2 separate regions of the Homo sapiens genome follow, and region 2 is linked to region 1. The links are contacts of gene promoters, found by promoter capture Hi-C in blood cells and fetal thymus (Javierre and others, 2016). All regions are on one chromosome and are shown on one strand. Each heading gives the region's core, a stretch centred on a gene start or on the middle of the fragment in contact. The rest is flanking DNA. Distances are from core to core; before and after follow the strand shown. Region 1 holds the start of URB1 (URB1 ribosome biogenesis factor). Region 2 has its middle 40 kb from the start of SCAF4.

The links. The method cuts DNA at HindIII sites, captures the fragments that hold promoters and counts their contacts. A CHiCAGO score of 5 or more calls a contact.
Region 2: a fragment that was not itself captured here is called in contact with the fragment with the promoter of URB1 in region 1 in 1 of 17 cell types (total B cells); the score reaches 6.1 in total B cells.

What each region holds. Positions count from the first base shown.
Region 1 is chr21:32,388,387-32,395,459 of GRCh38, reverse strand. It overlaps URB1 (URB1 ribosome biogenesis factor), which reads left to right and starts at 2,448. Exons shown (of 39, transcript NM_014825.3): 1 at 2,448-2,691. The coding sequence starts at 2,550. URB1-AS1 (URB1 antisense RNA 1 (head to head)) reads right to left here and starts at 2,327. Exons shown (of 1, transcript NR_026845.1): 1 at 1,500-2,327. RefSeq lists enhancers at 1,846-2,095, 1,618-2,399, 2,246-2,540, 2,400-3,182. The HindIII fragment of the contact is 11,778 bases long and covers 606-7,073 here.
Region 2 is chr21:31,768,418-31,775,490 of GRCh38, reverse strand. No RefSeq gene overlaps it. Among named protein-coding and RNA genes, the nearest start is that of SCAF4, 40 kb to the right of the region's middle. RefSeq lists an enhancer at 2,378-2,667. The HindIII fragment of the contact is 1,961 bases long and covers 2,607-4,567 here.

The DNA of each region.
Region 1 (7,073 bases), core at 1,199-3,698:
TGTATTCAGTTAACTAATATTCTATTTACACACATTTATATCCATACTTGAAATAAGTTCATCATTTTCATACTTTGTGTTATCCTTAGCTTGTTCTGTATTTAAGGTTATATGAGCCTCGTAAAAGATGTTGGGATACTTTATTTTTTATTTTGTGGAACTAACGGCACAAGGTGAGAATTATCTGTTTCTGAAAAGATTGTTAGAACTTAACTGAAAAATCATCTTCATGTTGGGAAAGTGCTATGGTTTGAACGTTTGTGTCCCCCTCAAATTCATTATGTTGAAACCCCATCCCAAGTGTGATATTTGGTTGTGGGAGGCCTTTTGTGAGGTGACTAGCTCATGAGGGTGGAGCCCTCAGATGTAATTAGTGAGTGTCTTTATAAAGTAGGCCCAATCAAGAAAGGTCGGGAGACAGAGAGTGAGGTATGTACAGGAAAAGTCCACATCTGAGCCACTTGAGCTCTGGGCAAAGAGTTTCAAAGAGAGGGAACAAGTACAAAAGCTCTCGGGCTTTTTTCCTCAGCTTAGAATGTCCTAGGAGCAGTACCACATAGTCTGCAACAAACCAGAATGCTCCTGGAGGCAAATAATACAAAGCTTTGATATGGAAAGACAAGTCACTATCCAGAGGTTGGTGAGCCTCATATCTGAACAAAGGGTTAACCCAGCATCAATGATTCATGGCATTAACTTAGTCTAAAACATCCAAATGCACTTCTGAGCCACACTTGCCATCCATACATCTCTGGCTAAGGCTGTAAATGGGCACTGCCAACTTCTGTTTCTTTGTTTTTAATTTGGGACTAGGATACACTGGGTGAGTCCTGGCTCCACCAGTTACTAGCTGGATAATCCTGGGAAGTTCCTCATGCTCTTTAATTGTTTGTAAAGCAAACCAGCACAGAGGGATGGTAATTTGCCCAAGGTCACACAGGCAGAAACTGAACTCAGGGCTTTTGACTGTTTCCTAACTCTTTCTGATAACTTTTTGGTTGGGACCACCATGGCAGAAAACAAAGTTGGTGGTTAGCGATTAACCAAAGAAGAGGACCAGTGTGGATAATCAGTCAGAATTAAGTCTGTATTCACTAATGAGTGTTGCCTTTTACAGATGACTTTTTGAGCATATTCCCCTCTCTTAACATTGCTGCATTAGCTCATATCTGCTAGGGGTGACACCCTCTCTCTGACCTGCCTACAACATAGACATCTCCACAGGCACAATCATCTTGTCGGGACAGAGGCTCAGCGTCAACACACGTGCTTTTTCTACTAGAAACTCTGAGACCCCAACAGGCCACAAAAGCCCACATCCTCAGATGTTCAAAACACATCTGCTTACAGAATATGAAACACAATTTTCTTAGACTAGAGGACAACCTGATGGAGAATTTCAGTAATCACCAAGTTACTTATCTAATGCGCTGGTTCATGATTTATTTGGACACATACCTAAGTATCGATGAAGTCGTATTAAAATATGTACCAGCCTGTTTTTACTTATTTTTACTTTCATTTTATTTCAGAGCATTTAATGCGGTTTACAAATCAATCACATCTTCCAAAAACACACTGTGTTGTTTTTCTCCTCAAAGCAGTTTTTCATACATTGCATCATTTTCTGTTCATAACAGTCCCAAGGACTGGATAGGGTCGGCTTTGCTGTCTCCATTTTAATGACAGGAACTTAGATGTGGAGGCCTTACGCTGTCCAGGAAGGGGTTTTACAGACGTTACTTCGTTTGGTCTTCTCCTCCCACCCTGCACGGCGCAAAGAGCCCATCAGTTTGCGGAAGTCTGGGGTGGAGGACAGTCTGGAGTGACAGGCTGCTACCAGACCAGTCGATCTGGTTCGGGCTGTGACATAAGCTAGGGGTCGAAGTCAGGGGCACCCGCACAGGCGGACCTGCCTGGCACCTAGCCAAGGCGAATCCACCTTCCCGGCCAGCCACCAGGGCCTTGAATTGGCAAAGTATCGAATCCTGTTGTGTGTGAAGCAAGCTCTTCATGCGACACCTTCAGGGCGACCTCGGGTCAAGAACTACTCATTGTGCTGCTTGGACGCGCCGGGGCCCGAGTCTTCGTGGATCGGCCAGGCCAGGAGTGAAAGGTCTGGGAGTTCTTCCGGCCAAGAGCACCCGAAGAGCCACTGGGATCAGAAATGCGCCCCGGTGGACCCCAAACCCTGCAGCCGGGGGCGGGGGGTGTCGTGGAGTGTCCGCTCGCCCCATGCCGTGACCGGGACAACCGGTACAGCAAACTCACATGGAGCCCCAAGACTCTGGATCCCCAAGACTCTGGATCCCTATCGCCCCGCCCCTTCTGCAGGCCACGCCCCTTCCGCCGGTCCCAGCCTCGCGCGGGTCGGCCCCTTCCGCCGGCCTTTCCCCGAGCCCCGCCTCTTCCGCCAGCCCCGCCTCTTCCGCCAGCCCCGCCTCTTCCTGCGCCATGTGGGCCTGAAGCGCGTGTCTGCTGTCTGTGCCAGTGCTCCTGCCGGGTCCCCTCAGGTGTGTCGTTTCCGTCGCGCTTCCGCCCTCTCGGCCATGGGGGTCCCCAAGAGGAAGGCCTCGGGCGGCCAGGACGGCGCGGCTTCCTCCGCGGGTGCAGCCAAGCGCGCCCGCAAAGAAGAGCTCACGGGCGTGCGGTTCAAGGCTCAGCTGAAGGACCCGCAGGGCCCCGGGCCAGGTGAGTCCGGGGCGGCAGGCGCAGGGTCGGGAGCACAGGCTGGCGAGGCGGCCTCCGTGTGCCGGGCACAGCCTCTCCTTTCTGCAGCTTTCGGGTCACATAGGCTCAGTGGCAAGCCTCTGGTTTGCAGAAAACTGAGGTTCAGGACTGCTGTGTACTTCCTTGCTCTGGACTGTCGGCGACAGCGAGAGGGCCCCGACTTGCTTGATTGGGACCGTTTCATGTTACAACACATTTATTTCCCTTGCCCAGGCAGCATCCCTCAGCGAGCTCTAAAACCTCTTTATTGCAGTTGTCAGGGAAGTAAATGAAGTGTCCTTCTCTATTGAGTCCTTACTGAGTCGGCTCAGGACGGTTCATGAGACAGTTTGCTACTCCTTGGGCCGTCAGCACCGTTTTCAATAGCTTCCATCCCCCAACACTCATACTGACTTGATGACTTGTAACAAGCTACTAGAAGCCACCACAGCTACTTGTCAGTTGACCAGGAATGGGCCAGTGACTGAGATGTAGCCGACTCTATAATTTAATTACACTTTTTGTAAAGTGTGACCACCCTTCGCGACTACTTGTAATCGTTTGGAAAGTAACATGGTTTGGGAAAAACGCAATTGAACGTGTTGCCATGTGGAAGCATTGCTCTAAAATAAAACAGTGGCAGTTTTTCTCCCAGGTTAAATAAACGATTAAATTAATGGCCAAAATATCTTCAACTTCCAATTTTTGTCCTCATTTTTTTTTTTAAACGACAGGGTCTTGCTCTGTTGCCCAGGCTGAAGTGCAGTGGCACTATCATAGCTCACTGCAGCCTTGAACTTCTGGGCTTAAGCTGTCCTCCCACCTCAGCCTCCCAAGTAGCTGAGATTGTAGGTGCACAACACCATGCCCAGCTATGTTTTTTTTTTTTTTTTTACTTTTTGTAGAGATGGAATCTCACTATGTTGTCCAGGCTGCCCTCGAACTCCCAGTCTCAAGCAATCTTCCCACCTTGTCTTCTCAAAGGGCTGGGAGTATAGGTATGAGCCACCACACCTGGCCTGTTTTTAAACTTTGATACCTATACCTGTACTTGCTAGTCACAGCTAGGAAGATGATACTTAGTTAGCATAGAGTTATTTATTTCCGAATTCATTAAGTATTACTAGAGGCTATTATTTGCTACGGTAGAGATAAAGTGATGAATAAAAATGTCAAAAAGCCTCTGCCATTGTGGGGTTTACAAACAGTCGAGTGGGGCAGGCAGATATTGGTCAGTAAAATCACATACATACAGTTTCAAGCACGAGTTTTCCAAAGGAGAGGTACATGGTGCCTGAGGGTGTTTAACAGACCTTGGATCTAATCTGGGAGCTCAAAGAAGGCTCCCCTGAGGAAGTGGCTTTTCTTTTCTTTTTTTTTTAATCATACTTTAAGTTTTAGGGTACATGTGCACAACGTGCCCCTTTGTTACATATGTATACATGTGCCATGTTGGTGTCCTGCACCCATTAACTCGTCATTTAACCTTAGGTATATCTCCTAATGCTGTCCCTCCCCCCTCCCCCCGACCCGACAACAGGCCCCGGTGTGTGATGTTCCCCTTCCTGTGTCCATGTGTTCTCATTGTTCAGTTCCCACCTATGAGTGAGAACATGCGGTGTTTGGTTTTTTGTCCTTGCGATAGTTTGCTGAGAATGATGGTTTCCAGCTTCATCCATGTCCCTACAAAGGACATGAACTCATCGTTTTTTATGGCTGCATAGTATTCCATGGTGTATATGTGCCACATTGTCTTAATCCAGTCTATCATTGTTGGACATTTGGGTTGGTTCCAAGTCTTTGCTATTGTGAATAGTGCCACAGTAAACGTACGTGTGCATGTGTCTTGATAGCAGTATGATTTATAATCCTTTGGGTATATACCCAGTAATGGGATGACTGGGTCAAATGGTATTTCTAGTTCTAGATCCCTGAGGAATCGCCACACTGACTTCCACAATGGTTGAACTAGTTTACAGTCCCACCAACAGTGTAAAAGTGTTCCCATTTCTCCACATCCTCTCCAGCACCTGTTGTTTCCTGACTTTTTAATGATCGCCATTCTAATTGGTGTGAGATGGTATCTCATTGTGGTTTTGATTTGCATTTCTCTGATGGATCTAATTAAACTAAAGAGCTTGTGCACAGCAAAAGAAACTACCATCAGAGTGAACAGGCGACCTACAGAATGGGAGAAAATTTTTGCAATCTACTCATCTGACAAAGGGCTAATATCCAGAATCTACAATGAACTCAAACAAATTTACAAGAAAAAAAAAAACCCCATCAAAAAGTGGGCAAAGGATATGAACAGACACTTCTCAAAAGAAGACATTTATGCAGCCAAAAGACACATGAAAAAATGCTCATCATCACTGGCCATCAGAGGAAGTGGCTTTTCAAAAGGATTGTAGGATGGGACAGGGACAGGAACCTTACTGGCAGAAGAAAGAGCACGTTTAATTGTTAAAAAGATGTAGTATCTATATTTCATGGTCTTGCACAGAGAGCCTCATGACATTCAGGTGCTACATCATTTGAACACATGTCAGAAGGAGACCCAGGTTGACAGGGCATGGGTGTAGGTGAGTAGTTGAAAGATGGGGCAAAGCTGAGTCAATGGGTGAAAGTGTGGATCCCTTGTTTGAGGCTGTGTTGAACTTGTGTTTGAATCTGGTCTGTATCTTGGATTCTCTCCTCCTCTCTTCCTCTTTATACGCTCTCATAACCTATGATAGGATTGCTGGAAGATCAGGGAAGTGAAGTTGATGGCTGTTAGGAGACTTTGTTTTCACCAGGCATGTGAGGGAAGGGTTCTGATGATGCTCCCTTCGTGTAGTGGAGGAACAAGAGCTGCCAGGTTAGATTGGTAAGGACTGAGGATATTCCAGAGTGGATCAGTGTCAGCCTGTGGGAAGATCCCCCATCAAGAAGGGTTTGGCTCTAAGCCAGTTCCTTTGAAAGTGTTTGCCCACGACTCCACTGGTGATAGAGAAAAGGCCATACTGTAAGAGAGTACACTAATGGTTAAACTCTTGATCTCCTTCTCCCCACATTGCTTCTGGTTTCCCCACTGCATAAGTGGTAATTCTGATTAGCTGGATGTTCCTGCCAGAACCCTCCGTCTGCATCAGTCTGTCCCCTGGCCTTGGTGGTTGATTCTCCTCCTGAGAATTTCTGGAATCTGTCTGCTCCCCCTCTTTCCTTCATCATCATTCTAGTCCAGGCATCATCAGTCCCTGCTGGGACCGTGGCTGGAGTTGCCCAGAGTTGGTCTCTCTTGCTGTTGCTTCCCTGCAGCCCGTGCTGTGTGCAGCAGTCAAATGATCCTTCAGAGCTCCAAATCTGATTATGTCACTCCTCTCATGACACCCTTCAGTGGTATCCCACTGCCCTTAGGATAAAATCCAAAGTCATTTCCATTGCTTCATCTAGCCCTGCCTGCTTCTTTGACTTCATCTCAGGCTGCCCTCCCCCACTCACTCAGTCACCCCTCCCCACTCACCTGGCTCCAGTGTACCCTCCAGCCTTGGGGCCTGGAATGTGGTCTCACCCTCTGCCCCCTCAATACTTACGTTTACTATTATTAATAATAGGTTCAGCATTACTTCTTCAAAGGAAACCTTCCCAACCCTCTAATCTAGATCATGTTCCCTAGGTACAGTCCTCATTATACTCTTGATGTTTGCTTCATAGCACTTACTACAGGTGCTATACGTGTCTATGTAAGTGATTGCGGTAGGTGCTTAATAAATACTCACATTGGTCTCTATCATTAGATTGTAAGGACCATGTGGGTAGAGGCCATTTCTAATTTGCTCATCAGCACGTCTCGGGCACCCCCTGTAGGTGCACCTGGTAGGTGCCCAGTAAATGGTGTATGGAAAGATGAACCTGTAAAGACGGCAAACATAACAGGCCAGCAGTTTCCACCCTGTAATACTCTGGAATGCTCAGAGTTACATGCTAGAGTTTGACGAATAATTCCTTAAAAAAGAGTGAGTAGTTGCACTGCTCTTTCTGTATTAACAGCCCTTGCTATCACTTGCATTCTGTGTTTTCTTGAGGGACAGAGTAGGTATGCATAACTCCAGGGTGCCTGTGCCGACTGAGCTCCTGTAACTCACAGTCACCTTGGTCAGAACACCCATGGCCTGCTCATAATCACCACCAGACCACGCTGCAGACGGCAGCAATGGAGTCTGGCCCCGAAGCTCAGAGCAGCGCCTGGCATAGCAGATGCACTTGCTCAGTGACTGTTAAAGGAATGGCGGTGGTTGCTGCGGAAAATGTTGCAGCATAAAAGGGGATCTGAAAACACCTGTGAGGCTGGCAGAGGCCGAATGTGACTGGATTTTCACTGC
Region 2 (7,073 bases), core at 2,338-4,837, 620 kb after region 1:
CGAAACTTTGGATTGATTTCCATATTTCTGCTCTAATAAAAATGCTGCCAGGATGTTCTTATGTGTGTTGTCTGTTGAGAACGTGCAAGGGCTTCTGGATGGCAGGGCGCCTCCAGCTTTCCTAGGTTCTCTGAAATTGTTTTCTGAAATGATCTAATGGACTCACTGTCCCCCTAGTTGTGTACACATGTTCCCTTTATTCATATTTCTTACTCTGGAAACTTCCAAAGGACTGACCAGATAAAAGCTAGGTTTAGGGAAGATCCATTAGGTGAGGGGAGGGGGGGTTAGAGGGGAGAAGCCCCTTACCAGGTAAGATGGACAAGAGGCCAGAGGACATCAACAGGTGCATCCCTACAGAGACCCGAGGGCCTAGCAAGACACGGCCTCCTTTTTGGGCAGAATTCCTACAGTTTCTCTTTTGTGTATGAGTTGGTATCCACCAATAGAATCCACAATCTTTGGAATGCACCCAACAGGATGCATGGCTTGCAAAAAAGCAAAGAGTTACATACTTGAAAATTCTAATGTATTTCCCTGTGTCTGGTAAAAGGATCTGGCCCCAGGAAAAGTACTGTGCATCTTCAAATCTAACCCTCTTTGTCTGTAAATTGGACATCATTATCTGCCTCCACAGAACTGTTGTGTGGCTTGGCAGATCATTAATGGTAATGGGTCCTTGGTCCCTGTAAAACCAGATGTAAATGCTGAGTGCTGCTTATAGTAGGAACAGGTTACGCATATAGTAGGGTGGAAGCACAATCCAACAGGACTAGCCTAAATGTTACTTTTCAGAGACAACTTGAATCTCACTAAATTTTAAACAGGTTAGTTTCGTATCAACAGGACTTTTCCCAAGCCATCAGTTTCCTTTGCCTCCTACACAACCAAGCAGGACTGCCCCAGGGGAGGAAGGCAGAAATCATGGACAAGTTTCCTGAGAGGCCACATCCGCCTGTTCAGGCCTTGCCACCTCACTGCATGAAGGGACACGGCCTCATGTGCATCAGCTGTCATATCTTGGGTTTCTTGGTATTCAAGAAATGCTTTCTTTTCTTTTCTTTCATTTTATTTATTGATTAATTGATTGATACAGTGTCTCTCTCTGTCACCCAGGCTGGAGTGTAGTGGCGCAATCTCAGCTCACTGTAGCCACTACCTTCCAGGATGAAGCCATCCTCCCACCCCAGCCTCCCAAGTAGCTGGGACTACAGACCCATGACATCACTCCTGGCTAATTCATAGAGATGGGGTGTCCTATATTGCCCAAGCTGGTCTTGAACTCCTGGGCTCAAGCAATCTGCCTACTTCAGCCTCCCAAAATGTTGGGATTAAAGATGTGAGCCACCATGCCTGGTGTAAGAAATGGATCTACCAAGTTCAGGCTATTTTGTAATAATTTTCATTGTGTATGTGTGGTTTTTGGTTTTGCTTTTTGCTTTTTGGGTTTGTTTTTTTTTTTTTTTGAGTCAGAGTCTTGCTCTGTTGCCCAGGCTGGAGTCCAGTGACACAATCATAACTCACTGCAACCTCAAACTCCTGGGCTCAAGCAATTCTCCCACCTCAGCCTCCCAAGTAGCTAGGACTACAAGTGTGCACCACCATGCCCAGCTAATTTTTAAATTTTTTTGTAGAAGTTGAGGGGTGGGGGGTTGGGGGGGGGCTCTCACTGTGTTGCTCAGGCTCGTCTTGAACTTCTGGCCTCAAGCAATCCTCCTGCCTTAGCCTCCTGAAGCCCTGAGATAACAAGCATGAGCCACCACACCTGGCTAATTTTTAGTTGTTTAGACTGTCTTGTCCTCAAGGCAACAATCTATTGCAGCTGATTCACGAGGCTCACACCTTTGTAAGTTTTGTGATAATAACTGAGGGCCAGGTTGCAGCCTGAGGCTTCTTGGGTCTGGCTTCCTGTCCTTTCCACAGGTCCTAGGTGCCTCTCCCACCATGCACAAGGCCCTGATCCAGTCCTAGGACAGTTGGCTAAAGAGCCTGTCAGCTAATGCTCAGCCTTTTCCAGCTGTTTACCCCATTTTTCTCATGTGTTGACTAACACTTCCTGCCCCCAAAACCTGTCAGCTCCAAGATGTACTCCACAATCGTTCTGTCTCCCATCTGTCCATCTGGGGCCCAGGGGACACAGCAAGAGTCTCAAAAGGCCCATTTGCATCTCACCCACATCAGTAGAGCAAAAAGGGGGCATTGCTGTAATAAAGAAATAATTGAAGGTAGAAAGTGCTAAAGCAAAAGGGGAAAGGAAGATTATCCAAATGCAACTAAATATAGATTCTACTGTGGGTCATGTTGCTGAGGTGCAGACATTTACAGCAGGTGTTCAGTTTTGCTTAACGCAAGACTCTTTGCAATCATTTTTAAGTAGTACAGTGAAAGGGCCCTTAGGGAAAGAGCTCCCCTTGTTCTCACTTTGCAGATGTAGAGGCCTGAGAAGCAGGGAGGTGAAGTAGTTCACCCACGATCCCACAGCTGCTAAGTGCCAGGGCTAGGACTCCATCCCAGGGCTTGGGACAGTCAAACAGGGCCTCTTTCAACAAGCCCGTATTGTCTCTCAGCAAAGATCTATAAAAAGCTGGATGATAATAAAATAAGCTTATGCAACACTTTTGCCTAATGCAAATTAAGAAATTGATTTCAGGAACAGAAACTTGGGTAGGGTTTGCCCACATACAAACAACACTAAAGAGAAAGTTGACTACTTAAAATAGAAGACACTGTTCTCTCATGTGACTGAAAGGATTATTTCTATTCTGAAAAACTGAGAGGTTGCCTGTCATAAAGTCGTGTCCTCAAATTCAGAAACTTTAAAGTTTAATGCGGCCCAACGCATTGACTCACACCTGTAATTCCAACACTGGGAGTCCAAGGTGGGAGCTTGAGCCCAGAAGTTCGAGACCAGCCTAGGCAACATGGCAAGACACCGTCTCTACAAAAAAAATTTTTTTTAATTAGCTAGGCGTGGTGGCACATGCCTGTAGCCCAAGCTACTTGGGAGGCTAAGGCAGGAGGACCCCTTGAGCCCAAAAAGTCAAGGTTGCAGTAAGCCATGATCACACCACTGCAACCCAGCATGGGTGACAGAGTGAGACCCTGTCTCAAAAATTAAAGTTTAAAAATAAAGTTTTTTAAATAAAAAAAAAAAGTCTGGCCAGGAGCGGTGGCTCACACGTATAATCCTAGCACTTTGCGAGGCCGTGGTGGATGGATCACTTGAGCTTAGGAGTTCAAGACTAGCCTGAGTAACATGGCGAGACCCCATCTCTACAAAAAAATACAAAAAAAATTAGCCAGGCATGGTGGCACACACCTGTAGTCCCAGCTACTCAGGAGGCTGAGTTGGGAGGATCTGACCTCTTGAGTCCTGGAGGTCTAGGCTGCAGTGAGCCAAGATTGCACCACTGCAGTCCAGCCTGGGTGACAAAGTGAGACCCTGTATCAAAAAATATATATACATATATATATAAATGTTTAAAAGCCTAATGTAAGTGTCTCCAGTATACTGTAAGTAAAGTGACTTGTGTTTGTGAATTTAATCACTTGCAAAACACATAGTCATTCTCTCACTTGTCTTTACAATAACTCTGTGAGGAGCTGAGCATCAATCAGTGTCATCATTATCTCCATTCCACAAATAAGGAGATGGCGGCTCAGAGAAACTAAATGAATTCTCAATATCATGCAGCTGAACCTTGAACCTCAGGCTGCTGAATTCTTTTTATAAGGTATGGTAGAAGGGAATTCAAGCTCGAAGTCAGGAAGACGGATATGAGTCCTGACTTGGCCACTTACTTGGTCTCTGTCATTGAACAACTTATTTACCGCACAGAGCCTCAGCTGATGCATCTGTAAAATAGGGAGAATCACACCTGTGTGGTAGCTTTTATGAGTATTCAATGAAGCAATGTATGAAAAGCATCAAGGTCAGTGCCTGGCACAAACCAGGTTCTCAGACAAGTAATCCTTGCTATTGCTGATATATACAGCTTCTATTATACTATTTTGCAGCTTTTCCAGCTAGTCACGGCACAATACATGACTTAAAGACACAAAAGGGAGACTTCCTTTCCTCTGATCTCACTCCCTGATTCACTGGCCTGGCTTCTTATAAAGAAAGGTCTTGGCCTGGTTTAAGCAGAAATTCATTTACCAAAAGAATTAGTTGATGAAGGCCAGGCGCGGTGGTTCACGCCTGTAATCCCAGCACTTTGTGAGGCCGAGGCAGGCAGATCATGAGGTCAGGAGATCGAGACCATCCTGGCTAACATGGTGAAACCCCGTCTCTACTAAAAATACAAAAAATTAGCTGGGCGTGGTGGCGGGCGCCTGTAGTCCCAGCTACTTCGGAGGCTGAGGCAGGAGAATGGCGTGAACCTGGGAGGCGGAGCTTGCAGTGAGCCGACGTGCGCCACTATACTCCAGCCTAGGTGACAGAGCGAGACTCCGTCTCAAAAAAAAAAAAAAAAAAAGAATTAGTTGATGAGGTCACCAGTAAATGTAAAGCATTTCATTTATTCACACAATAAATGTTAATAAAGAGTGTACTATAACCCAAGCTTTAGGGAGACCATGTAGCACTTGGTAGGCACAGTCCCAGGCCTCAGGGAGCTGAAGTGATGGGGAAGGCAAACATCAAGCAAGTCACTGGCACCACCAACGTGATTCAGACACGTCTGATCACCCCCGATCACCTGGCATTTTCAGGGCTTAGAATCAGTAAACAAATAGAAACTCCTTAGTTCCCTGCTTTCTCCACTTCTCTGCAAATCATCACCAATTAAGTGCGCATTCAATAAAAGCAGAGAAAAACATTAAGTCCTTAGTGATTCCCATCACTGCTGCCCACATTTCATTGCTGAGAACTAATCACATGACCATAACTGGGCATGAAGAGGGTTGAGAAAATAGCCCTTGACTGGGCTGTCACTTTCCATGCTAGGAAAGGGAGGATGCATTTTTGGTAGCCAAATGGCATATACTTGGGAAAGACCATTGTGACTTTTCTGCCACAGCCAGAAAGAAGGCCAAACATATCAGCAATCCTAACACCTAATGAAAAGAACACAGGAAAGATGGAAAAGACATCGAAAAAGGCATGCTAGGCCGGGCGCAGTGGCTCACACCTATAATCCCAGAACTTTGGGAGGCTGAGGCAGGTGGATGACCTGAGGTCAAGGGTTCGAGACCAGCCTGACCAACACGGCGAAACCCCATCTCTATTAAAAATACAAAAATTATGTAATCTCAGCTACTCGGGAGGCTGAGGCAGGACAATCGCTTGAACCTGGGAGACGGAGGTTGCAATGAGCTGAGATCGCACCATTGCACTCCAGCCCAGGTGACAGTGTGAGACTCCGTCTCAAAAAAAAAAAAAAAAAAAACACAAAAATTAGGCCAGACACGGTAGCTCACGCCTGTAATCCCAGCACTTTGGAAGGCCGGGGCGGGCGGATCACCTGAGGTAGGGAGTTCGAGACCAGCTTGACCAACGTGGAGAAACCCTGTCACTACTAAAAATACAAAATTAGCTGGGTGTGGTGGTGCATGCCTGTAATCTCAGCTACTTGGGAGGCTGAGGTAGGAGAATCGCTTGAACCCAGGAGGCAGAGGTTGCAGTGAGCCAAGATCATGCCATTGCACTCCAGCCTGGGCAACAAGAGCAAAGCTCTGTTTCAAAAAATAAATAAATAAATACAAAAATACAAAAATCAGTCAGGCATGCTGGTGCAGGCCTGTGGTCGCAGCTACTCAGGAGGCTGAGGTGGAAGGACCACTTGGGCCTGGGAGGCAGGGAGGTTGCAGTTAACCAAGATTGTGCCACTGCACTCCAGCCTGGATGACAGACAGGCTGCACTCCAGCCTGGATGACACTGCACTCCAGCCTGGATGACAAAAAAAGAAAATAAAAGAAAAAGGCATGCCAGGTATATATTAATAGTAGTCATCTCACACAAAATAAAATTCAAAATGAAAAGCATTAAAAGAATATATCATAATTATAACATTATAATCCACAAAAATATGAATCATAAACATTTATGTACCTACAACCTTGGCCTCAAAATCTGTAAGTAAGACAAGCCCTGATAGAAATGCAAGGAATCACTGGTAAGTCCCCATCATGGGTGGCTTTAAATACATTTCTCAAAAACAGGCTGATCAACTACTACCCAAATGAATATGTCTTAAGAAGTCCTGGCTGACAAAACTAACATTTATAACTTCATAGGCATATGGAGAGAAACAAGTTTTTATCCAACAGACATTACACATTTTTTTCCAACTCTCATGAGACATTCTCTGAATGTATTAAACCACAAAGAAAATCACAACAAATCCCCAATAGTAAAACTGTGACAGCATACATTCATGAACTATAATGGAATAAAATTAGAAAATAATAAAAGATGGATAACAAACAAAAATCTATCCTCTTGGATATTTTAAAACATTCCACTAAATAAGTCTTAGGTTTGACAGGAAATAAGCACAGAAATTACAAGCCATTTAGAACTGAATCACAGTAAGAGCTGTCCATGGATATCAAGGCCCTTGGGACACGCTAAGACAGCACTCACAGGGAAAATACATAGCCTTATGTGCATGTGACAGAAAATAAGAAATGTTGAAAATAAATGAATCAACCAAGATTTCAACTCAAGAAGCTTGGCAGGGGATGGAGAGAGACAAAATAAACCTGAAGAAAGTTGAAGGAATGAATTAAGAAAGATAAGAGTAGAAATTAATAAAAATAGAAAATAAAGAGGTGATAGCATGTGGTGACTGGTTTTTCAGATGCTGGCAAGGTTGCAGAGAAAAGGAAACACTTATACACTGTTGGTGGGAGTGTAAATTAGTTCAACCATTGTGGAAAACAGTGTGGCGATTTCTCAAAGACCTAAAAGCAGAAATACCAATTGACCCAGCAATCCCATTACTGGGTATATGCCCAAAGGAATATAAATTGTTCTATTATAAAGACACATGCATGTGTATGTTCATTGCAGCACTATTCACAATAGCAAAGGCACGGTATCAACCTAAATGCCCATCAATGATACACT